Linked DNA regions of Homo sapiens: regions 1, 2, 3, 4, 5 and 6 are each linked to region 7. Evidence: promoter capture Hi-C in 16 types of primary human blood cells and fetal thymus (Javierre and others, 2016). All regions are on one chromosome and are shown on one strand. The core of a region is centred on a gene start or on the middle of the fragment in contact, and the rest is flanking DNA. Distances in the headings are between cores, read along the strand shown. Region 1 overlaps BCL6 (BCL6 transcription repressor). Region 2 overlaps LPP (LIM domain containing preferred translocation partner in lipoma). Region 3 overlaps LOC105374263 (a long non-coding RNA gene). Region 4 holds the start of LPP-AS1 (LPP antisense RNA 1). Region 5 overlaps LPP (LIM domain containing preferred translocation partner in lipoma). Region 6 has its middle 8.9 kb from the start of BCL6. Region 7 holds the start of FLJ42393 (a long non-coding RNA gene).

Region 1 (3,181 bases), core at 504-3,003, 440 kb after region 7:
AACTTGCTGGAAATTGGTTTTGAGATTTTGGGCAAGGCCTCTCACCCGGAGCCTCAGTTCCCTCCCTAATAAAGCAGGGCTGTTATAAGGATAAGATGCAATCTTGAGGGGGTGGGAAAGGACTAAGAGCTCTGTAAAAATACAAACCAAATGCTGGTGGTGCTTCCACACCTGCGGCATTTGGGGTGGGGGTGGTGACAACATTGCCCACACTCAACCCACACACTCAGGAGTTGGGGGGGGCTGGTTCTTAAGACGAGTTGGCTTGCAAAGGAGTGAACTTGAGAAGGACCTGCGCCTCGTGTATGTACATTTGTTTTTGGCCAGGCAGAGGCTTACGGTGAAAAGCCCAAGGCCCAGCTGACAGTGGACACAGGGGAATTTGTTTGTTTGTTTCAATCCGCATCTGGAGTGAGTCATTGCCACTTGTCATGGTGAAATGGCAAATCTGGGCTTCCTGTGGTTCCAGAAGCCTGCGACTGGAAATCCACAAGCGAGCTGGTGGTTGAAGCTGGTTAAAGAACAGCCTAGGTATTCCAGAAGTGTTTGAGGATCCCTTCCATGAAGGAAGAGAGGAAAGTTTTTAAGTAAACCTCCCACTCCCATGTGTCTTCAGCTTTCTTTTGCAAAGGAGAAAATCCTTGAAGTTTGGTAAAGACCGAGTTAGTCTATCTCTCTTTGCCTATCTCGAGTTGGGCTGGGGAGAGGAGGAGATAGGTTCTTTTGTCTTTTTCTGTCTTCTCCCTTCCCCACTTCCTTCCCTCCAGTCCCCACTCACTCACATGCACACACTAACCTTGGAGCCGATGGGATTGAGTGACTGGCACTTGGGACCACAGAGAAATGTCAGAGTGTTTGGTTACAGACTCAAGGAAACCTCTCATTTTAGAGTGCTCATTTGGTAAGACTCAGCAGCCTGGAATGGGGCAAAGTGTTTGTGTGGGGGAAGGAACTTAAAAATGAGATTCACCCACATCAGGGTGCTGTCTTGCATGTTCTACAGCACGTAGGCTGATTTGGAAAGGGGACAGGAATTTGAGCCAGAAGACCTAGGGCCGGGTCACCAACCATGTACATGGCCCAACATGACCTTGTTGGCCTCAGGCCTCTTTACCCAGAAAATAGCTCTAAAAGGTTCTGCTTTTTTTTTTTTAAAGGGGGGAAGACAGTTCAAATATTGTTTTATTTTGCAGCCCACATTTGATCATAAATGAGGGTCTTACACCTGTGCTTTTAATGATTTTGTTTTAGAGAAGCCGGTTTGGAAGGAGGTACATATTTCATTAAATCTCTTCAAGGTTTAGTGCTCCCTGGCCAGTTCTCAGCTAAATCACATAGTTAAGTCTTTTACCAGCAGGGAGAAGCACAAACTTAGAAGCAATGGCATTCTGTCTGGTCTTAGACCCAGTAGGGAAGGGAGAGAACACTTTGAAAAAGAAGACAAAGGTTTTCAAGGAATACGTAGACATGACATCTCAGGCTGTGTTCTGCAGAGTCTATATTCAGTCTTAATGTTTCAGATGGGCAGGAAATACTGCCTAGCTGTTTGTCTTGAGCAAGCCACTTGAACCCCTAAGTCTCAGTTTCATCGCCAGTGAAATAAGGATAAAGATATTGGCCCTATCGTCCTTGCGGAATCATTCTAAGGCTTGAAAGATAATATTTTAGCAGGTTTTGAATGACGTCCAGTGGTTTTAGGCCACGGACGAATCGTTATTGTTAATGTTGACAGAACCATTTTTCTTATTTTTTCTTTCCCATAAACTCTAGTGGCCTTTGGATAGTATAAATTTTTTCTTTGAAGAAGGAAATATATGTATGTATGTATGTATAACTAATTAATGTATGCAATTGTACTCCCAGTACTCTGGATAAAAACATTATTATCTCATAGCTTCGGGTGCCTGTTGTTTCCGTAAGAGCAGAGCTGGAAAATGTTTGTTAGCTTGTGGTAAAACCACACCAGCTGGCAAGCTGCAACTATCAAAGCAAAACTAAATGTGTATGTCCTAAAATAAGACTATAGTGGACAATCTTACATTCGTTAAATCAATTTCTGTTTGCTTTCTTCTCTTCTCTGTAGGTTTTGAGCAAAATTTTGGACTGTGAAGCAAGGCATTGGGTAAGTAAATAAAATTATATGCTTTAAAATGTTGGGACAAACTGTTTCTTTTGAATTTGCCAATACATGTGTCTCTGTGAACTTTGCCACTGTTCATTATATGAGACAAGGATAACCAGTTCCCTCTACATCACTCCTAGTCCTCATCCTTCACCTCTGTATTAGACTGTCTTACCACTTGCATGGTCAATCATTGTTACTCTTTCTTTGTACAAACTAATTTAGCCAGCTAATGTTCACCAACAATATGCTAGCTCCTCGAGGTACAAAAGTCAAGCAACTCTAAAGCCTAACAGTAGAGAGAGACCAATGGTGACTGAGATGATGAAATAAGATACCTATGAGAATAGCTATGAGTTTTGAGAGCCTCCTATGAACGAGGAATGTATTTCTAACTTTTATAACCACATAGGTATTACTACTTCCATTTGGGGAAACCAAAGCCCCAAACCAGTAAACAACCTGCTTAAAGTCCCACAGCTAGCAAAAGGCAAGTCTAGCCTGATAATCTTAAAACACAGTGTCTTGACTGGGCGCGGTGGCTCATGCCTGTAATCCCAGCACTTTGGGAGGCCAAGTTGGGCAGATCACGAGGTCAGGAGTTTGAGACCCAGCCTGGCCAACATAGTGAAACACTATCTCTACTAAAAATACAAAAAAATTAGCTGGGCATGGTGGCAGGCACCTGTAATCCCAGCTACTCGGGAGACCGAGGCAGGAGAATCACTTGAACCTGGGAAGGCGGACTTGCAGTGAGCTGAGATTGCACTATTGCACTTCAGCCTGGGTGACAGTGTGAGACTCCATCTCAAAAAACAAAAACAAAAACAAAAAACACGGTGTCTCTCCATTGCAACATACTCACTACCTGTCAGTGCTTGGCAGAGTATTTGGTATGTGGGAAAAACACTCAACAAATATTCATTCCCTTTGCTTTTCCCCTAAAGGGCTTTCTATCCCAACTTGTTGGATAAAAGTTATTCTCCCCATTTTAAAACTATGAAGAATAATGGCCAGAGTTGGACTATGAATTGTTCAAAGATCAAATACAAGGGACCT
Region 2 (2,902 bases), core at 170-2,669, 490 kb before region 7:
TAAGTCCCGCCTCTCCTTCCTCCAGTTTGGCTGGACAAGCTAAGTTTTCACATCATGCACTCAAAATGGGGAAGGAGAAACTTGTCCATTTTCTCTATGTCTGGAGGAGCAGGAAGAGCCACAGTATCCAGAATCATAGCTTCAGGGAGAGGAAGAATGGTCACGATCTACTGGCTAAATGAACTCTTAGCTGATACCTGAATCCTGAAAAATGCCCCCTACCCATAATGTTTTAAAAGTCTCAGAGAGACCAAAGCATGAGCCTAATTATGATTGATGTTGGTACTAATTAAAATGGGGAAGTATTGAGAAAGTGCTACATTGATTAATTATAGAGGCTGTACACTGTCAAAGAGTTTTATAAATATTTAATAATTTATCTTAATATTGATGTGGATGAATACCACCTTCATTTTTCTTTGATATGACTCTACAGTGGTTTGTTGTTGTTGTTATTTGTTTCCACATATAGGGCCCTATGTCATTCATGAGATGATGTAAATTGACCAAGCTCACAGGGCCCTCAGAGTTAAAAACAAACAAACAAACAAAAAAACGGTACTTCTCTATTATGAATCTGCCCAGCTCACATTTAACTTCTCGTGACTGGAAATAAGCTTTCTTTTACTTGAACTTCCACAGGTTGTTTAATTTGTACTCCTTCAAAGCATATAACCAGTGATAAGAAAGTTATTTATATGCCTTTTTCTCTACTGGAACAGACAGACCATGTTGCACACACATTAATGGCCCAAATGGGACTTAATATAGCTTGGGGATTCTCAGTACACGAGTGCTGAATGGAAACAGAAAAAAAAAAAACAATAAAAGAAAACAATTTTTTCCTTAGAAATGGAAGTCAAAAACTAAATTATAGATAGTAAAATATAAAGTGATTCGTATATTATATTGACTCAATTCCTCCAGTTCCTCTCCTCCCAGGGTTTAGACCTTTAAAAGAGAAAACATACTATTGTCTTGGCAGCAGCTCCAGGAGCAACTCTAAAAGGTGTTGTCAAAGCAGTGGAGAGAAGGGAACGAGCTTATGGAAAGAACAAGCGATTGGAAAACAGTGAAAGGCACCAATCTTCAAAGGTATAGGAAGAGGAAGGGCACAGACAGCTTATTCTGCTCCTGCCTGCAGGGCAGCCTCTGCCCAGGGTTAAGAAGCAAGCTGGTAGCAGCAAATAGAAACAAAAATGGAGCAGGTAAAATCACCCTCTATCCCCACCACCCCCTCCATCAACGTACACACACTGTAAGTGAAGAAGGGGTAAAGATAAATAGCATTTTTACTCCAGTCCTTTAACCCTCCCTAACTCCATCCAACGACAACAACAAATTAATAAGAAAAAGTTGCATAAACAAAACCAAGCAAAACATGAGCCAACAAGATAATGTACCAAACAGGGTAAGCTCTGGAAAATGAATGGGGGTATGGGTGCACTTTCACTTTCTTTCATGAACTTCTGCACTGGATGATTAAAAAAAAAAAAGAGTCTTATAACAAACATTTGAAGACAAAAAGCTCACCATAAATAGCATTTGGGAAACAAACTGCCTTAGTATCAAGAAAGATTATAAACGTGAGTTTTGTCTTCCAGGAATGCAAATAGCTTCCTCATTTCTACCCCTCCCAGTTCTTGCTTAAATTCTTACGCAGTCAGTTCAGACTTGTTCAGTTTGATACCTCAAGTGTGAGCAAGAAAGCATTCAAAATGCAAACACGAAAATTAATGGAAAATTTTCAAGCGCTTCTATTTAAACAATGATTGCTATATGTCTTTTTGCCCTTCAGTGGCAGCTTTACTAGCAACCAATGAAGAATACTTATTTTCTTTATAATTAGATGCTCCACAAATGCAGTAAATGACACAAAAAGAGCATGTTTAGAGCTCTCATTTCTGGCTGACTAATTAGTCAATATTATATTCAAATGCAACTTCTGGTATTTCACCCATTCCGGGCCTAGAGTCTCCTGCACCTCCACTGAGGGTGGGTGCCTAGTATAGTAATTTGTCTGAAACAGACTCATAGTTTTCAGGAGAGAATGGGTAAACTGCTCTACTGTTACATCTCAAAATGCAAATAAGGAAGAGCAAATAATTAACTAGAAACTTAAAAAAAAATAACATAGGCAACTGCCCCTTGATTATCAGAATTCATGACTTTCTGGGCAAAGGGGGCCATGGAGCAGATTCTTAACATTAACGAAAGCTTGTCTCCTTTTATCATGTCAAGATGTAATCTTCCTATTGATGTAGTAAGGGAAAGGGGGAGGGGAAGGCATTAATAAATGAGATTTGTGATTTGCATAGAAAAAAATGGCTGATTGGTTTCAATTTAAATAAATATTGAAGTTTGATAAACTGAAGTAAATGCTGACAACTCTGCCAACACAACTAGATGTTAAATTTTTATAGCCTTTAACTTGATTGCAAAGGGACTCCTGTGAAACTTTTAAAAGACAAGGGATAATATGCCAAAATAATTTATTCCTTACACATTTATTAATTGAAAGAGGCAATGCTAGGTCCTATGGGGATAGGACAAAGGAATTCAAATTGTTATTCTTTTCAAAGTTTTAGTATCTATGGTCGTTATAATAACTATAATCCAAGGTAGATATTAAATGCCATAAAAGAGGCAGAGCCATTTTCAGCTGCGTAGTACTTGATCTAAGACTTTCAAAATTGGAAAGATTTTAGAACGTAGAGAGAACAATCTGGCAAGACTTAAACTGCATAAACAAATATGTGGAGAAAGGACAACTTATGTAGAAAACGCGGGGGAAACTGAAATTGCCCTATTGGGTTAGAAACCTATAACTGCCCAGAAGTAGCAACGGAGCTGAAGTCAGAAAGACAATGGAAGAAAATGATGGAAGTCTTAGGATGGCAAC
Region 3 (3,055 bases), core at 96-2,595, 390 kb after region 7:
TTTTCAATTTCAACCAAGACGTTTGAAATGCACACAATCACAGTTTCTTCTCCTTTCCCTCAGGAAAGAAAACTGATCCTGTAGCCACAGAAAAACAGGACTGAGACCAGGAAGGGCAAGTCGTGTGTGTCAGCATTGTGGACCTTTATATAAATAATAATTTTCCAGTGGGAACTGTGATCTCTTCTTGTCTCTTCTATTTTTAAATGCTAATTACTTCTGATTTTGTTTACGTAGGCGGAGCTAATAAGAACATTTGCTTCATAACCATTGAACCTAATGTATCTGTTTTTGGACACTGGTGATTTATTTTTGCACACATGCTCCAAATTGGTGCTAATTACTTTAAAGGATCAGAGTTTCTATTCCAAGAGGGATGACGACAGAATGTCAATTTGGAGTCTCTGAGCATAATGTCCCAATTATCAATGCATTCCAGACCAGAATGGACTTGGCACCTTCTTGAAGGGATTTGGCTTCACTTTTATCAGCCAGTCCCTGGTTGTAGCTTCATTAAAACTTGCTTTCTAGTAACTTGTGGATGTGCCTATACTTTTCTCTGTCTCAAAGACCCTTCAGTGTCATATCAGTATCCTGAATACCTACCTTTTCATTTCCAGATCAAATACTTCTCCCTCTGAGCCTTTTTTGATCTCTTTGGCCCAAGATAATTTTAATTCCTAAGATTTTCTGATTCCTTTCTTAAAGAGGTTAGCACTTTCTACATTGTATTGTAATCATTTGCTGTTACATTCTTACCTCCTTTCTAACAGATAAGCCCCTTAGTGACAATACCTTATCTGAATTATCTTTGTCCCCACTGCACACTGAAACTTCTCCTGGTGCCCTGTACATAATAAGTGCTTTACACATTGATTTAATTGCGGTTTGTTTATAATATCCTACATGCTCCAGAAAGATTTTAAGGTAGATTTAAATAAATATTTATGCAACAAAGGAATGAATACATCTATACGCACACAGAATTACTAAAGTCTATAATCAATATATGAAGTATAACTACACAGTACAAAATTTAACCATCATACCTAAAAGAAAAACAAACACGATGCTGTGGGGAATGCTTGAGAGGTAGTAACAAAGGCTTTAAATCTTAATGACCACCAAAGTAACCCACATTCCTGATATGGTATTTGCTCAACATGAATGTTTAGATGAACAGGAGATGAAAACTATCTGAAGTGAGGGGAGGGGGTGTCACTGACTACACAGAATAAATATGGAGCATATTGTGACCAAGAAGATATGGCCACAGAGGAAAAAGAGCAAAACAGGTCCATCCTAATTTGTTCATTTACCGTTCACTTATTCATCCCACAAACTTGTATGGAGAAGCCCCTATGTCAAATGCTATGCTTGCACTGTGGATGCAAAGGTAAATAAAAACATCCTAGTTTAGCTGTTTAGACCAGGGGTCAGCAAACTATGGCCAATGGGCCATCTCCGGATCACTGTTTGTTTTATAAATAAAGTTTTATTGGAATACACCATGCCAATTCATTTATATATATATCTCTTAGCCACTGTTCCTCCACAACTGCAGAATTGAATAGTTCTGAGAGAAACCTTATGTCCTGCAAAACCAAAATGTTGACTGTTCCTCATCTGTCCCTTTACATAAAATGTTGGTTGACACTGGTTTAAAAGTCATTAAAATACACTGGAGACAGTGCCATGTGGGGTAAGGACAGCGTTCTGTGGAAGACAACTCAGTCTTAGAAAGTCAAGGAAGGCCTCTTAGGGCAGAGACCATGTGTTTCTTGCTCACTGTTGTATTACAAGTGCCTGACACATAGTAGGTGCTCAGTAAATATTTGTTGAATGAATAAACAAATGATGTTACTTCTAAGATGAGAGTGAAGGGATGATTGGAGTAATCCAGGACAAACGTGGAGGGATGGATACAGCACATGCAATGATCTGAGGCAAGAGAGGTCCAGGTGTCCTGGTAAGCAGATGCTGTCAGTTGCAGGGAGAGTGAAGTGAGGTGTGAGGTTTGGGATAAGGAGAAGATAAGGCTGGAAAGTGAGCAGGAATAAGATCAGGCAGGGCCGCTTAAGCCTCCTGTAGAGTTAGGGCTTTATCCTGAAGGCCATGTAAAAAAAGTTTTAAGCAGGACAAATATAAGTTCAGAGAGTGCTTTAGAAAGACCGCTTGGGGTGCTTTGTGGGAGACCAGAAGGAAAGCAAACCCAGGGCTGGAAGCTGGGTTAAGAGCTGTGGCAGAAATCCTGGGAACTGCAGTTAGGCAGTGACACTGGGGATAGGGCTCAGTAGACAAATTTGAGAAAGATTTAGGAAGTAGAGTTGATAGGACTTGGCGGCTGAGTGCTTAGGGATGGAGAGTCACAGCGAGCGGGGGTTAAAGACGATAGCAATGTTTCTGCCTTGAGAGACAGGTAGTGGGGAGGGCAGGGCCCTTTCTTTAGATGGAAACACAGGAGGAATAAAAGGTTAAGGAGAGGGGGGAATATTGGCTGCGCTTGGGGCATGCTGAATTCAAGGTGCTTATGAGATACCCAGGAGGAATTTATACACACAGGTTTGAAACTCAGATGGGCAATCTAGTCTAAAAATCTAAAATTGGAAGTCATTAGAATCAAGAGAGTAATTAAAGCCATAAGAGTATATAACATTTTAAGAGAGAACTTGTAGAGTGAGAAAGGGTCAAAGAAAATATTTTTAAAACCGGAGGAACAGCATTCAATAGAATAACAGAGCTCAAGCAGCCCTTAAAAGATACTGAGAAAGAACATCCAGGAAGACAAGAAGAGAACCAGTGAAATTTGATGTGACAGAACCAAGGGACATGATCTAGTTAGGGTCAAGAATTTCAAAGAATTAAGAAATGTCTACTGTAATAAAGATCGAACTGGAGATAGAGCCAGGACAAATTTACTGTTGCCCTTCTTGACAGCAGCTCTGATAAAATGGTGAAGGTAGGAGCAAAACAAACATGAATAGGAGGTAAGGAAGTGGACAGAGTAAGTGCAGACAATCTGTGAAGGAATTTGGGTAGTAGGTTAATTGCTGGA
Region 4 (3,344 bases), core at 422-2,921, 390 kb before region 7:
AAGTTTAACATAAGCCATTCACCAAAAACATCAGGATTTCTACAATAATTTCTTTCTCCAATATTGCTTAATAGTTTGTCTATGTGCCTTACCTGCAAGACAGAACTCCAGGGTAGGGTCTCAGGCAGTCTTACTCATATGCCTTTGACCAATGACTGCCACAAGGCCTGTCACTTTTACCCTTCTCTGCATCAAATTATGAATAGAGTACACTAATTGCATGCAGAAGTTAGAAATGATATGGTCAAACAATGTTATTCTCCTGAATTAGTGATTAAGGCTATCAGATTGTGACTACTCAAAAAAAAAAAAAGCCATTAAACTGAAGTTGCCATTCATACAAACTGACTACCACTAAAGTAGATTTGAGGTTATCTAGGGTTAGAGTGAGAATGGGAAGCAAATGAGCATGGACTTTTTAAATGTTCTAAAATTAAATTGAGGTAATGATTGCATGACTCTGTAAATAAATTACAAATCACTGAATTGTAAAAAAGCAAAATAAAAACTTTTTGCCAAATATCCCTCTTCACTAACACAGGGACTGTTAGTATTTTCAGTTGTGCCTTTAGTGGCCAATTCATACATTTAGGCTTTGGAGCCAGATGGCCGAGGCTGAAACATGACCTCTGCCACTTAGTGCCTCGATGAGTTACATACAACCTTCTGGGCCACAATTTCCTCTGCTGAAAAATGGGAGAAATGACAGGCTACATCATTGGATTACTAAGAAAAATAAGTGAATTGATTTGTGGAAGTGATACAGTAACTTCTCAATAAATGTTTAGTTACCAATCCATATCTTTTATTTAATTATAATTTTTAATATCAGAAATAATTGGCTATTGCTGCAAAGGGTTAATCTGATGGGGAATTCTACATAAAATTCTTTGTAGATAAGCACTATCCTACACAATACAGATGACATACTTCTAATTTTCATTCACAATCCAGGGCCCCTCCAATTCAAGTATATTCAGATTATCTTTCTAAAGCATGCTTCTCATTTTTTCCTCAAACTTTCAATGCTCCTGTCTTCCCCCCAGACTCCTGTCCCTAGTGCCTGCAACTGCCTACAAGGACAAGGTACAGAACATATAAAGTCATTGCATTGCACCGAATCCAATTGTAAGCGGCTCTCCGAACCCTCACCAATTTATTATTATTATTATTATTATTTGGCTGTTTTCTTTCTCTGTGCCACTTACTCCATTTTCCAGATACTTCAAATTCCTCACTCAGCCAAAAACACCATTCTTTCACGCAAATCTTCCTTTCACAATTGCAATTTCTTCTGCCTAGACTGTGGTCAGCCTTGAAAAACTCCTGTACATCCTTTGTGACCCAACTCGAATGTCACATCCTCTAGCTGACCTCAATCTTCATTGTGACCTCATAATAAGACATATACACCCCTACTGAAGCGTAAGTTCCCCCTCTCCACCCTTCAGGCCCTGCAGCCACTGTCTGCCCACACAGTCCCAAATGTTATCACAATACTAAGCTATTGTGCATTATATGTGATTCACCTCAGAGCCACAGCATATTTTCTTTTCTCTTCCAGAAAAACTTCTTCCTCTCTACTTTCCCCAAGCCACTCACCTCGCAAACTCCTACAAGTTTGTCAGACCTCAGTTTAGTTCAGATCGGATGCATTCAGGGTGTTATGGCAGGAGACAGACATGATCATAGGAAACTTCCTCAGATCTTCCAAGACTAGGTTTGCTTTGTCCCTGAATATGCTTCCAGAGTACCCTCTGCTGACCCTGAGTACTGGTCTATAGCACCAAATGGAAGACTGTCTGTCGATACACATTTTGTGACAGGCTCAGTTTTGTATAACTATTGTCAATCTCCATAACCCTAGCACATAGGAAGTCTCTGGCACATATCAGATGCTCAATATCGGTTGAGTGAATGTATTAATCATCTCCTTTAAAACCAGAGTCAGTGGATTGAAGGGTAAGTATATTATATCTCAAAAAGCTATTATTTAAAAATAAATCTGAATTACCAGTCTATCTTTCTCATTGTAGTTTTACCTCTCAGTTGCTGGACAGAGGTCTTACATGCTTGCATCCCTATCGTGGAGCCTGAAACCTACAAGTTGCTCAATAATGTTTACTGAAATTTCATAAAAATAAAATATTATGCCAGATTCTCAGCCACTGAACTACTTTCTACAAATGACCAATTTATATGAAGCTCCTCAGTAGGTAAATTGATAGTGATATCACAAATCAAGCAGCTGGAAGATTCACTGCTTTCAACATTCACATTTCACAACTAACAATTGGGTCCAGTAAGTGAATTACCCGAGATCGTGCAAATAGGATCACAAAGAATGCCTTCTCCCTAATCAATATCATTAGTGGTATCTAACTTAGAAAGACTGTTGTAATCACAGTAGTCAGATTTAGTGTTATGAGTATGGACTCTGCCAGCAACAAATCACCAAATACAGGTGATGAAAGCTATAGCTAGAAATAAATAGATCACTAGTGGGTTTTTGAAAACATGATCAGATTAAACAGGTGTTGATATGCATGAGAAGAGGAATAAACTCTTGGTTTGATGTAAGTCATTATTTGGCAGTTGTGTAATATCTGATAATCCTTCTAGGCTCTATTTACTCAAAGACCAGGAACTATAAGTATATCTGCTTCATAGGACAGAAGCCAGTGAAATTGGAGACAAATATTTTACATACCACAAATATGGTATTCAGGCAATGATGATAACAGCATCATTCTATAAGACCAACTGTATGACAGGCTTTGTTTTAAGCACTTTAGACACACTTTACACACGGCTTTGACTATAAACTGCATCTTTTTTTTTCCCTACTAACCTACTAACAAAGAACCAACAGGTGTCACTTAATATGTGTTACAATGGTTTCTTACCACATCAATCATAGGATGTGTTTCAATTTTCAAGAAATTAAACTGTGAGAAAGATATTTTATAGGATACAAGTAATAGAGTATAATACATTTAATAGTCCTAACAATCCTATGAGATGGGTCCTATTATCATCCCCATTTTAATGATGTGGAAGTTGAGGCGCAGAGAGGTTAAGGAACTTGTTCAAGGTTACATAAAAGCTTTAATGACGAGAAAAGTTTAACAGAGACTCAAAAAGTTTTACAGCGTCATCTCTCAGAAGCCCATAAAATGCTAAGAATTAGGTTTGTTTCTCTAAATCATACAATTGAACCAGTAAACTTTCCTCACTGAAGGGTATGGTGTCCTGAGATCTAAGAATTCTCATGGCAAAGTATTATGAAAATAAAAGTAGAAAGATAGCAATTTTAAACTCTTCAAGTTTTTATAATTTGCATC
Region 5 (3,186 bases), core at 569-3,068, 410 kb before region 7:
GGGACTACAGGCGCCCGCCACCGCGCCCGGCTAATTTTTTGTATTTTTAGTAGAGACGGGGTTTCACCTTGTTAGCCAGGATGGTCTCGATCTCCTGACCTCATGATCCACCCGCCTCGGCCTCCCAAAGTGCTGGGATTACAGGCGTGAGCCACCGCGCCCGGCCAGAGCGCCAACTTTCTTTAAAACAACACTTAAGGGGCAAGCGCGGTGGCTCACGTCTGTAATCCCAACACTTTGGGAGGCAGAGGTGGGAGGATCACGAGGTCAGGTGTTCAAGACCAGCCTGGCCAATATGGTGGAAACCCCCGTCTCTACTAAAAAATACAAAAATTAGCTGGGCCTGATGGTGCGTGCCTGTAGTCCCAGCTACTCGGGAGGCTGAGGCAGGAGAATTGCTGGAACCCAGGAGGTGGAGGTTGCAGTGAGCCAAGATCGGGCCACTGCACTCCAGCCTGGCGACAGAGCGAGACTCCAACTTAAAAAAAAAAAAAACAATGTTTAAGGACTATTTTGCTAAAAATACCTACGAGGAGGGGAGAAACTCCCAGGGAACTGTCACATATTACACTGCTCAGCATTCTGCAGTTTCATTTCTCATAGAAATATCTTTTCTCTAAGCATGTTTTAGTAAAATGGGTGCTGCCTGAGGACCCTCACACACAATTAATAATTACTAATTTTTGAAACAGACACTCTAACGACTTTTATTAGTTTAACAGCAAGTTGTCTTACATGTACTTTCCAAAGTTTTCCAGACTCCTTTCTAATATCAATTAAACATGGTCCACAGTGGACTAATGAGGCCTATTTAGTAGCAATTCATAATTTACTGTGCTTGTACTGTTCCCTGCAGGGCTTTTTTCTCTCACTAAACCATAATCATATCTCATTACCATTGTTTCATTACTACATTTTTTGGTTTAAATTTTGTTGCTGGCATTTAGTTAAGAAAAAGACTCTTTCATATTACATATAGAACATTTTCCTCTTAAAATGTCAAACCAATATGTTTCCACCTGAAAAACACTGCACTCAACGTAAAACAGGCAATCTCAACAACAAAAATAAAAACAACAAAAGAATATTTTTTTCCTCTGATTTAAAAGTTATTTGATTTTGCTATAAAAATGGAAACAAACCTCCATAAAGCTAATGTATCTGGTAGCAATTTAACTTGTTGTACTTTAAAAGTAGAATGCAAAAGATCTTCACACCTCTTCCTGCCCCAAAGAGACCCTTTCCAGAAAGCCTGCCATCTTTTATTACAAAATGCAGTCATAGACCTTATGCTATAGCACCTTAAAGATGGATGCACAGCCTGTAAAACAGTGTTATCTAAAAATGCTGGTCTCCATGTAGACTTATATCTGTACATAAATATACAGGTATGTTTACATGTGTGTTTGCATATATTTCAAACACATTCAGTAAAGAAACAGAAATAATCTTGGAACTTCAGACATAAAACAAATACATTTACATGTTTTCTACTTTTTCCCTTATGAAATACCTGTATAAATATACAGTAATAGCAGGTTTTTAATTGTAAATGGTTTTGACGTTTTCAACTTCAGAATTTTAAAACATGTATTTGTAGCCCAGGGGCGAAAGCAGTATGTATGTCTAAGCTTTAGGACTAAAAGAAGAATGCCAAGTCCCCTGTGCTGGTCCCTTCAGTTGCAGAAGGGACCATTTCTCTTTGTCTCTTCCCTTTTTTACTAGGGGGCAGTGCTGTCAGAGTTGTGAGAAAATCTTTTCTACTATACTCCCCATGAATTCATTCAGTTGCCAAGGATATGGCTCAAGCTCAGAAGTCAGCCTTCAAAATAAGGAGAGGAAGAAGGAAAAACAAGTAAAATAAACTGATAGATCCCAACATAAAATGATGCATCTTAAGAGTAGAAAAATACAAAGGGGAGAGGGTTAAGACAGTGCATTTTAACAACCCATTGAATCTTCTTATAAAAACAAGGCATTGACATGCTAAAGGCAACAAGCTTAATAAGTTCTAACATGTTTTCCACCTTTCTGAGGACTCTGATTTCTCTAAATGAGTCACTGGTTCTCTGCAGAATCATATTAAAGTTAGATTATGCCGTGTGATTGACTTATTTATTTGTCCCTTTAAGTTGCCATCTGAAACATGAGCTCTGAGAGATCAAACTTCACCAATACTTGCCAGTCCTCAGTGGAAATCCTAGAGTAATTTCTTAAAACCAACAGTAAAAAAATTTCTAAACGCTTTAGGCAGTGATGCTTCATTTCAACTACATGAAAAAACTTTCATCCTAGTTTTAAAAAGTGTTATAAAAATGTTACATGAATGGAATTTTTCAGGGAGGGATAAATTTATATCACAGAGAGAACTCAGGCCATCTTCACCAGTTTTAATGTTTCAAAAAAGGTTGGTAGAAAAGAAGAGATCTGGGGCTCCGAAGTAAGATGATGTTGAAAGTATTGAAAAGACCCAAATAAAGAAAATGAAAGGAAAAAAAAAGAAGAAGAAAGAGAGACAAGCAAGGGAACAGGATGTAGAAATGAATAATTTAGATATACAGCATGAGGAATAAGCCATGCCAATAAGTAAAAAAACATAATTTAAATAGAAAATGGCTTGAGATTGTATTAAGTCATGGCCAACTTCACACACACACACACACACACACACACACACACACGACTAAAATTAAAAGAAACATTTAAACTTATTTTTCTAATCTAAAATGGGAAAGAAGCGCTTACTTTTTAAAGAAAAATTCCTCATTTAATTCTTTCTCTTATCAGAGAACCTTCTTTGTCAGTTTTAACAGCAGATTAATCACTTTCGCAACCTACGGAAAAAGTTTTCTGGAAAGCATAACAGCCTGCAAGTGTAAATGACAGTATTACTTTTCCTGCAGCTCACCCGCCTACAAATTCTCTCTCATCCATGACTCAGCATGAGGTAAAAGGAGCTAATGAAAAGGGCCACATTTCCTTTTAAAAATTGTGAACTTTCTTTCAAAGTGCAGAACTATTAAAAAAAATCCCCCAAAAGCTTGACAGAAAAATGAAGTAGCTCTCCATGAATGTTTGTCAGTTATATACCTAGAAAATTTCTTCCAAGTAATGTTAAAAATCAGCTTGCTGTTTGACTCCCACCCGAGGCCAAACGCTGTACTTGATTGGGGATGTAGTACTTAC
Region 6 (3,302 bases), core at 702-3,201, 420 kb after region 7:
CTAATTGTTTGCATTTAAAAGGCTTCAATTACGGCTTTTTATTTCTTGAGTGTGTGTTTGTGGGATAGATAGATAGATAGATAGATAGATAGACAGATCGATAGATAGATAATAGATATTAAGCATTTTGGAAGATAAAAAAAGAATAAAGCCGAGAAAAGCGTTCATAATCCTACTACTGTAAGAGAGCTACTGTAAATATTTTTGTCAATTGTGTACTATTATTTACATCCAGTCTATTTTCTACAAAGAATATATTTTTAAAAATTGCTGTGAATATACTGTATACAAATATTATATAGATATATAATATGCATATATCTCTATATACATATTCTACTTCTTTCCACTTTACATATTACCATAAGTATCTTTCAATTCTAATTTTTCGAAATTAGTTGTATTGTAATTTACTTAATCATTCTTCATCCAACATTCTTTCTTCCAGCCTAGTCATGATAGGACATGTAGGTTGTTCAAATTTTTTGTTGTTAGAATACAGCGCTAGGATGCATATACTCATTCACTGATTTTTCCTGTATGTTGAATTATGCATTAAAGATAGATTCCTAGAAGTGGAATCTCTGGGTCAAAGGGTCTGCTTATATTTATGATTCTTGGTATATGTGGCCAATATATCTGAAAAAGTCATACTAATCAACACAGTAGGACCTAGTCTCACTGCACTTCACCAAGAGTTATTTAAATGTTGGCTTTCACAGTGAATATAAGTGTTAGTTCAAAGATCTTATAACTACTTGGCAGAGAGGCCAATAGATGTCAGAAAACATGAAGGGAAGAAGAGAAGAGACACTTAAAACTCAAGTGCAGCATTAGAAGTAAAAGCCATTGATAACTGACAATTGGTTAGAAATTAAAAAAGCATCTTTGAAGTCATAATGTACATCAATACAATAACAGGCCTCAGTTTACCAAAGTGGATACTGCAACAAAATAAATGATTCGGGGTGAACTGGTGATGGGAATCAGCTCTGCCACCAATTTGCTAAGTGGTGTTTGCAAATTGCTTTCCTCTCTGGACCTTTCTCAACTGTAGAACTGGTAAGCCGAAAGATGAAGATAGATGCTTTCAGAATTTAGAGAATTGGGTTGTACTCAGATAATGCAGACAAACTCATAGGGTTAAGGGGTCTGATAGGAGCTTCTCCTCTGTAGACACCGAGACTCATAACTCTGATGAGATCCACAGTTCTATTGGAGTTGTGCAATGAAATAGCAGACACTCTTGGAATCTCTTGGGGCTCCCCCAACTTCATGAATGAATCTCTAAGTTCTGCATGCCCCATATAAACTGATGACAAGATCTTTGAGAGCACTGTTTCCTTAGTGGGTTTCCACAGAGAAATTTTGAATATGGGGGTCCACGAAGTGGCTTGAGCCATCTACCCCAACAACAACATTTGGCCTTTGGTGCCTCTCTAGTATTCTCCTGATGGTTATGCAGATGGTGGCATACAGAAATGGAGTAAATTAGTAAACTAAAAGAATAAATGAGGTGCCCCATTTCTCTGACTCTATTCTAGGAAAATGAGTGAGAAGCAGGATCTCCCAGATTTCAGGAGAGATCTGGGTCACTTTTTGGAGGTTTCTGGTATTGAAAATTATATATATATATCCTCCAGCTGTATATATATATATATATATATATATATATATATATATATATATAACATCTCTATATGATATACGTATCTATCTATACCTCTATAGATATCTATAGATATCTATCTATATCTCTATATGATATATAGAGATATAGATATCTCCTCCAGGTAATAGACTTAATTTTTAAGAACATGTTTCAATTCACAGAAAAATTGAGCAGATGGTACAGAGAATAACCCTGTGCCCAGTTTCCCCTATGATTAACATAATACATTATATGGTACACGTGTAACAGTGAAACAATATCGGTACATTATTATTCACTAAAGTTCATCATTGATTCAGATTTGTCTAGGTTGATCTTATGTCTTTTTGTGGCCAATTATTCCATCTAAGATTCGACATTATATTAAGTTGTCATGTCTCCTTAGGCTAATCCTTGCCTGTGACAATTTCTCAGACTTTCCTTGTTTCTGATGACCTTGATGGGCTTGAGGATTACTGGTTTTTTGTAGGACGCCCCTCTACTAGAATTTGTCTGATGTTTTTCTTATGATTAGACTAGTATTATGAGAGCAGGACCACAGAGAGAAAGAACAATTTTCACCACATCCTATCAAGAGTATATACTATCAAGATGATTTATCATTGTTGATGTTGGTCTTAATCCCCTGGCTAAGAGAGTGTTTGTCAGGCTTCTCCTAAGCTATTTTCCCCTGACTACCTTTCCATACGGAATATACTCCCCGGGAAGAAGTTACTATCTATAGCCCACAATTAAAGAGTGTGGGTTTCTGTTTCTCCTCCTTAAGGCCGGCACATGTCTATAAATTATTTGGAATCCCTGTGCACATCTATATAAATAAATTTGGAATTACGGGATGTTTGTCTTTTCTCTCTGGTTTATTAATTTACTTAATAATTTATTTATAATAGTATGGACTCATTACTTTTTTTTTTTTTTTTTTTTTGAGAAGGAGCCTCACTCTGTTGCCCAGGCTGGAGTGCAGTGGCACAATCTTGGCTCACTGAACCTCCGCCTCCCGGGTTCAATGGATTCTCCTGTCTCAGCCTCCCGAGTAGCTGGGATTACAGGCATACGACACCATGCCCAGCTAATTTCTGTATTTTTAGTAGAGACAGGGTTTCACCATGTTGGCCAGGCTGGTCTTGAACTCCTGACCTCAAGTGATCTGCCCACCTCGGCCTCCCAAAGTGCTGGGATTACAGGTGTAAGCCACTGCACCCAGCCCTGGACTCATTAATATTTATTTTATACTTTGGGTTATAATGTAAAACACTATTCTATTTTGTTGCTCAAATTGTTGCAGCTTTGGCCACTGGGAGCTCTTCAAGTGGCTCCTGTGTCTTTTTGAAATATCCCTCACCAATGTAGTTTTGTTTTTGAATAATTCCTTACTTTAAGGTGCTACAAGATCTTTCATTCTCATTTGTGTATTTCCTGCCCCAGTTTTAGAACTCAACAATTTCTCCAAGAAGCCTTGGTTCCAGCTGCTGAGAAATGGCATTAAAACTGAGACCAGCCTGGCCAACATGGTGAAACCCTGTCTCTACTGAAAATACAAAAACTAGCCGGGCGTGGTGGTGCAGGGCTGTAATCCCAGCTACTCGGGAGGCTGAGGCAAGAGAATCGCTTGAACCCGGGAGGCGGAGGT
Region 7 (2,938 bases), core at 146-2,645:
CCCAACCAACAACCCCCTATGTTGCTTCACAAGTAATTTCTGACCAGTCAGGCACAGATGCCATGCAAAAGACAAGGCCTCAAGGTGCCATTATCTGTCAAATGGACCCAAGGCAGGATGAGGCTGAATGAAAGAGGAGGAAGAGGAAGAAAGGCTCACTCAGGGGGAGAGGGGAAGCTGCTGCAAGCTAACTACTGCTCTCACTGACTCAGGATGCCCATTTCTCACAACCAGAGGCCACAGTTTTGGAGCAGACAAGAGACTGCAGAGAGGCTTGCTGAAGCTCACTCCACGGCTGGATTCCTGGCAGGATGAGAAATGGAGTTCTAGTAAACTAGAAGGAATGCTGCTGGCAGGAGACAGACCTCTCGAGAGGGCTTTAAATGGAAATATGAGAGCACGAGAGGAACTCTAAGTGTAGAAAATGCACTGGGCAAACAAGCGTGTCGCAGATGTGGGCGCCCCAGAAGGGAAGGAGCTCTGGAGTCACAGGGGACCCAAAGGACAGAATGTCAGGTGGCCCTCCAAGCCCGCAGGTGGCAATGGGAACAAGGCGGGAAATGAACTGGAGAGCTGAAGGCGGGGGCCTAGGAGGAGGCCGCAGAGCTGTGATGAAGGGCTGCTCATCAGAGGCACATGCACGGGTCAGATAAAGAAGCTCCGCTGCGAAGACAGGGGGCAATGCAAGGCCACAGCCGAAGATTCCATGCATGCTCTTCACGGTGGCAAATTCAAAAGCCTTGGAGGGCAGCATGCTTCTATGATAATAGGGAATGGGGGCCGGGGGGAATATGTAGACCCCATATCAATGCTCTCAAAACCTCTCTCTCTCTCTCTCTCTCTGTCTCTCTCCCTCCCTCTCTCTTGCTCACTCTCTCTCTCTCTCTCTCTCTCTCTCTGTCTCTCTCCCTCCCTCTCTCTTGCTCACTCTCTCTCTCTCTCTTTGTCGTGCTCTCTCTCTCCCTCTCTCTCCCACTCCCCACCTCTGGCCTAATATACCTGCATGTCCACAGAGGCACCAATCTGCAATGATGATGGACTCTCTCACCCACCCTGCTACTAGGAAACTTCTTCCATATATCATAAACAGAGACCAGTATTACAATACTTCACCCACTGCGCCAATTTGGCTTTCATGTCTGTTTCCTGTGTCGATCACAACATCCTAGACAGCCCAAACAAGGCTTTATTCACCTCTAGTCCCCGGTCCCTGGAACAGCAGACAATAAATAAGGAATCAACAAGTGTCCTTCACTGCCGCACACATTGGCTGTGAATATCCTTTTGCAAAGTGCAGAACATCTGAAAGATTCTCACATTGACTAAACAACAGTGTGACCTGAAGTTAAGAGAACCATAAAGGTAAATGATTGCTAGAAGTTTAATTCCAAACAAGGAAGAGCAATTTGATGCAATGGGCAGAAGACAAACATTGGGAGAATGAGAACGTATCCTCTTGAGTTGTGATGTGAACAAACAGAGATTCCAAGATCTTGCAAAAGCGAACAGTCAGCAACCAGCATGGTGCTTAGAGTAGTCCCTGGGCAACAGAAAAAAAACAGATAAATGAAGAAACATGGACAATCACCCTACCTGGGTCTCAGCGTGAGGAGGAGAACTAGGACTTCCAGACAGAAAAGAGGAGAAGCATGAGGAGGGGGCTGGGAAAGACATTTCCCTGTGGGCATGTGGTGCCCTCCACTGGGGCCAGAATTCCCAACCTGCCTCACTCTCCCCATCTGTGAAATTGGCTGATTCCCTGAGGTCCCTCCCAGCACTGACTATCAAGTGACAGAGAACCTAGAAACTCCAGGAGCTCCATCAGAGCCCTGACTACCTGTCCAAGTGAGACTGTGGGAGCCTCACTCTTCTCACACCTGTAAACTGAGGGTGCTGCAGTGTCAGCTATATCAACACTCCCAAGTATGCCTTTGCCAAAACCTCTATGGATGAGAAAGGAAAAGAGCATGTATGGAATTGGCCAGGGCTTAGAACCATCTTGAACATGACACACTTATGCACATCGTCACATCTTCCCAGCATCCCTGTCCCACCTCGGGCAGCAACTGTCAAAGTTCTGCCCCCAGGATGACCTCCCAGAGTCCTCAGGGCAGCTCCATCTCTCCAGCCCTCATTCCTTTCCAGCTCTTTGGTGTTTCCCTGTAATAAAAACACTGTGCACTTCTCTTTTCATGTTTTAACCATGAAGTGCCTTCCTCCAGACAAGTACTTTAATCCTTACTCCAGTCAGAATAGGTAACATCAGCATAATTACCATCATTACTCCCATTTTACAGAGGAGAGGGCTGAGGCTCACGTAAGACCTAATCTTCATCTTCCCAGGGATCCTCCAACTCCTAGCCAGGCCTCTCCCAGCTCCTAAATCAATCATGAAAGACTACAGCAATCACATCCAGTACTTTTCTGATCTAGTGTCTTTGCCGCTAAATAAAGGCAGAAATCAAGGTGGCAGGATCAATCCTGTATTCAAATCACTGTACTGTCTGCCACCCTCCTATGCTGGTCCAGGGAGCAGAACTGAAAATGTGCCTCAAGGCCCCAATCCAAAACAGATGCCATCACCCTGGACAGATTCTCCAACCATGCTCCAAGACTGGTATCCATCTCACTTCAACCAGCCCTCCTTCCCAGGCCTGGGTCTGTCTACTGGCACAGGGGGACCCTGCCATGAAAATGAGGGCATCTCTACTGGATTGCAGGCGATCCCCTCGCTGGGCTGGCCCACCCATTCAACCATCACTGGACCACCCCCAGGCCTGCTACCCCTTCAGACACTCAGCCTCATACTGCCTAGCTCTTTCTACCAGGTCTCTCCCTCAGATCAATTCCACCTCAGCCCCAAACTTGCCATCTCCTAAGCAGATTTATACTTCTTCCCAATTTCTATCCTTCCTCTAGCTCATTACTGCTTTCCTGT

What was found. Contacts are between HindIII fragments. The CHiCAGO score rates a contact against its expected background, and 5 or more counts as called.
Region 1: a contact is called between a fragment that was not itself captured here and the fragment with the promoter of FLJ42393 in region 7, in 3 of 17 cell types (monocytes, neutrophils and M2 macrophages). The highest score is 6.3, in monocytes.
Region 2: a contact is called between a fragment that was not itself captured here and the fragment with the promoter of FLJ42393 in region 7, in 2 of 17 cell types (total B cells and naive B cells). The highest score is 5.2, in total B cells.
Region 3: a fragment that was not itself captured here is called in contact with the fragment with the promoter of FLJ42393 in region 7 in 2 of 17 cell types (neutrophils and monocytes); the score reaches 6.1 in neutrophils.
Region 4: the fragment with the promoter of LPP-AS1 here is called in contact with the fragment with the promoter of FLJ42393 in region 7 in 2 of 17 cell types (total B cells and naive B cells); the score reaches 8.2 in total B cells.
Region 5: a contact is called between a fragment that was not itself captured here and the fragment with the promoter of FLJ42393 in region 7, in 1 of 17 cell types (total B cells). The highest score is 6.2, in total B cells.
Region 6: a contact is called between a fragment that was not itself captured here and the fragment with the promoter of FLJ42393 in region 7, in 8 of 17 cell types (monocytes, activated CD4 T cells, neutrophils and 5 more). The highest score is 8.0, in monocytes.

What each region holds. Positions count from the first base shown.
Region 1 is chr3:187,733,810-187,736,990 of GRCh38, reverse strand. BCL6 (BCL6 transcription repressor) reads left to right here. Exons shown (of 10, transcript NM_001706.5): 2 at 2,084-2,122. Among named protein-coding and RNA genes, the nearest start is that of BCL6-AS1, 8.3 kb to the left of the region's middle. The HindIII fragment of the contact is 8,715 bases long and covers 1-3,181 here.
Region 2 is chr3:188,670,881-188,673,782 of GRCh38, reverse strand. The region is part of intron 7 of LPP (LIM domain containing preferred translocation partner in lipoma); the gene reads right to left. Among named protein-coding and RNA genes, the nearest start is that of MIR28, 16 kb to the left of the region's middle. The HindIII fragment of the contact is 1,600 bases long and covers 620-2,219 here.
Region 3 is chr3:187,790,074-187,793,128 of GRCh38, reverse strand. LOC105374263 (a long non-coding RNA gene) reads left to right here. Exons shown (of 3, transcript XR_924812.2): 3 at 64-534. Among named protein-coding and RNA genes, the nearest start is that of BCL6, 46 kb to the right of the region's middle. The HindIII fragment of the contact is 5,384 bases long and covers 1-3,055 here.
Region 4 is chr3:188,566,993-188,570,336 of GRCh38, reverse strand. It overlaps LPP-AS1 (LPP antisense RNA 1), which reads left to right and starts at 1,671. Exons shown (of 2, transcript NR_046623.1): 1 at 1,671-1,962. The region is part of intron 6 of LPP (LIM domain containing preferred translocation partner in lipoma); the gene reads right to left. The HindIII fragment of the contact is 3,783 bases long and covers 1-3,108 here.
Region 5 is chr3:188,584,042-188,587,227 of GRCh38, reverse strand. The region is part of intron 6 of LPP (LIM domain containing preferred translocation partner in lipoma); the gene reads right to left. Among named protein-coding and RNA genes, the nearest start is that of LPP-AS1, 17 kb to the right of the region's middle. The HindIII fragment of the contact is 369 bases long and covers 1,634-2,002 here.
Region 6 is chr3:187,752,711-187,756,012 of GRCh38, reverse strand. No RefSeq gene overlaps it. Among named protein-coding and RNA genes, the nearest start is that of BCL6, 8.9 kb to the right of the region's middle. The HindIII fragment of the contact is 8,209 bases long and covers 1-3,302 here.
Region 7 is chr3:188,177,000-188,179,937 of GRCh38, reverse strand. FLJ42393 (a long non-coding RNA gene) reads right to left here and starts at 1,395. Exons shown (of 1, transcript NR_024413.1): 1 at 1-1,395. All of the region lies in intron 1 of LPP (LIM domain containing preferred translocation partner in lipoma), which reads right to left. RefSeq lists an enhancer at 19-631. The HindIII fragment of the contact is 11,595 bases long and covers 1-2,938 here.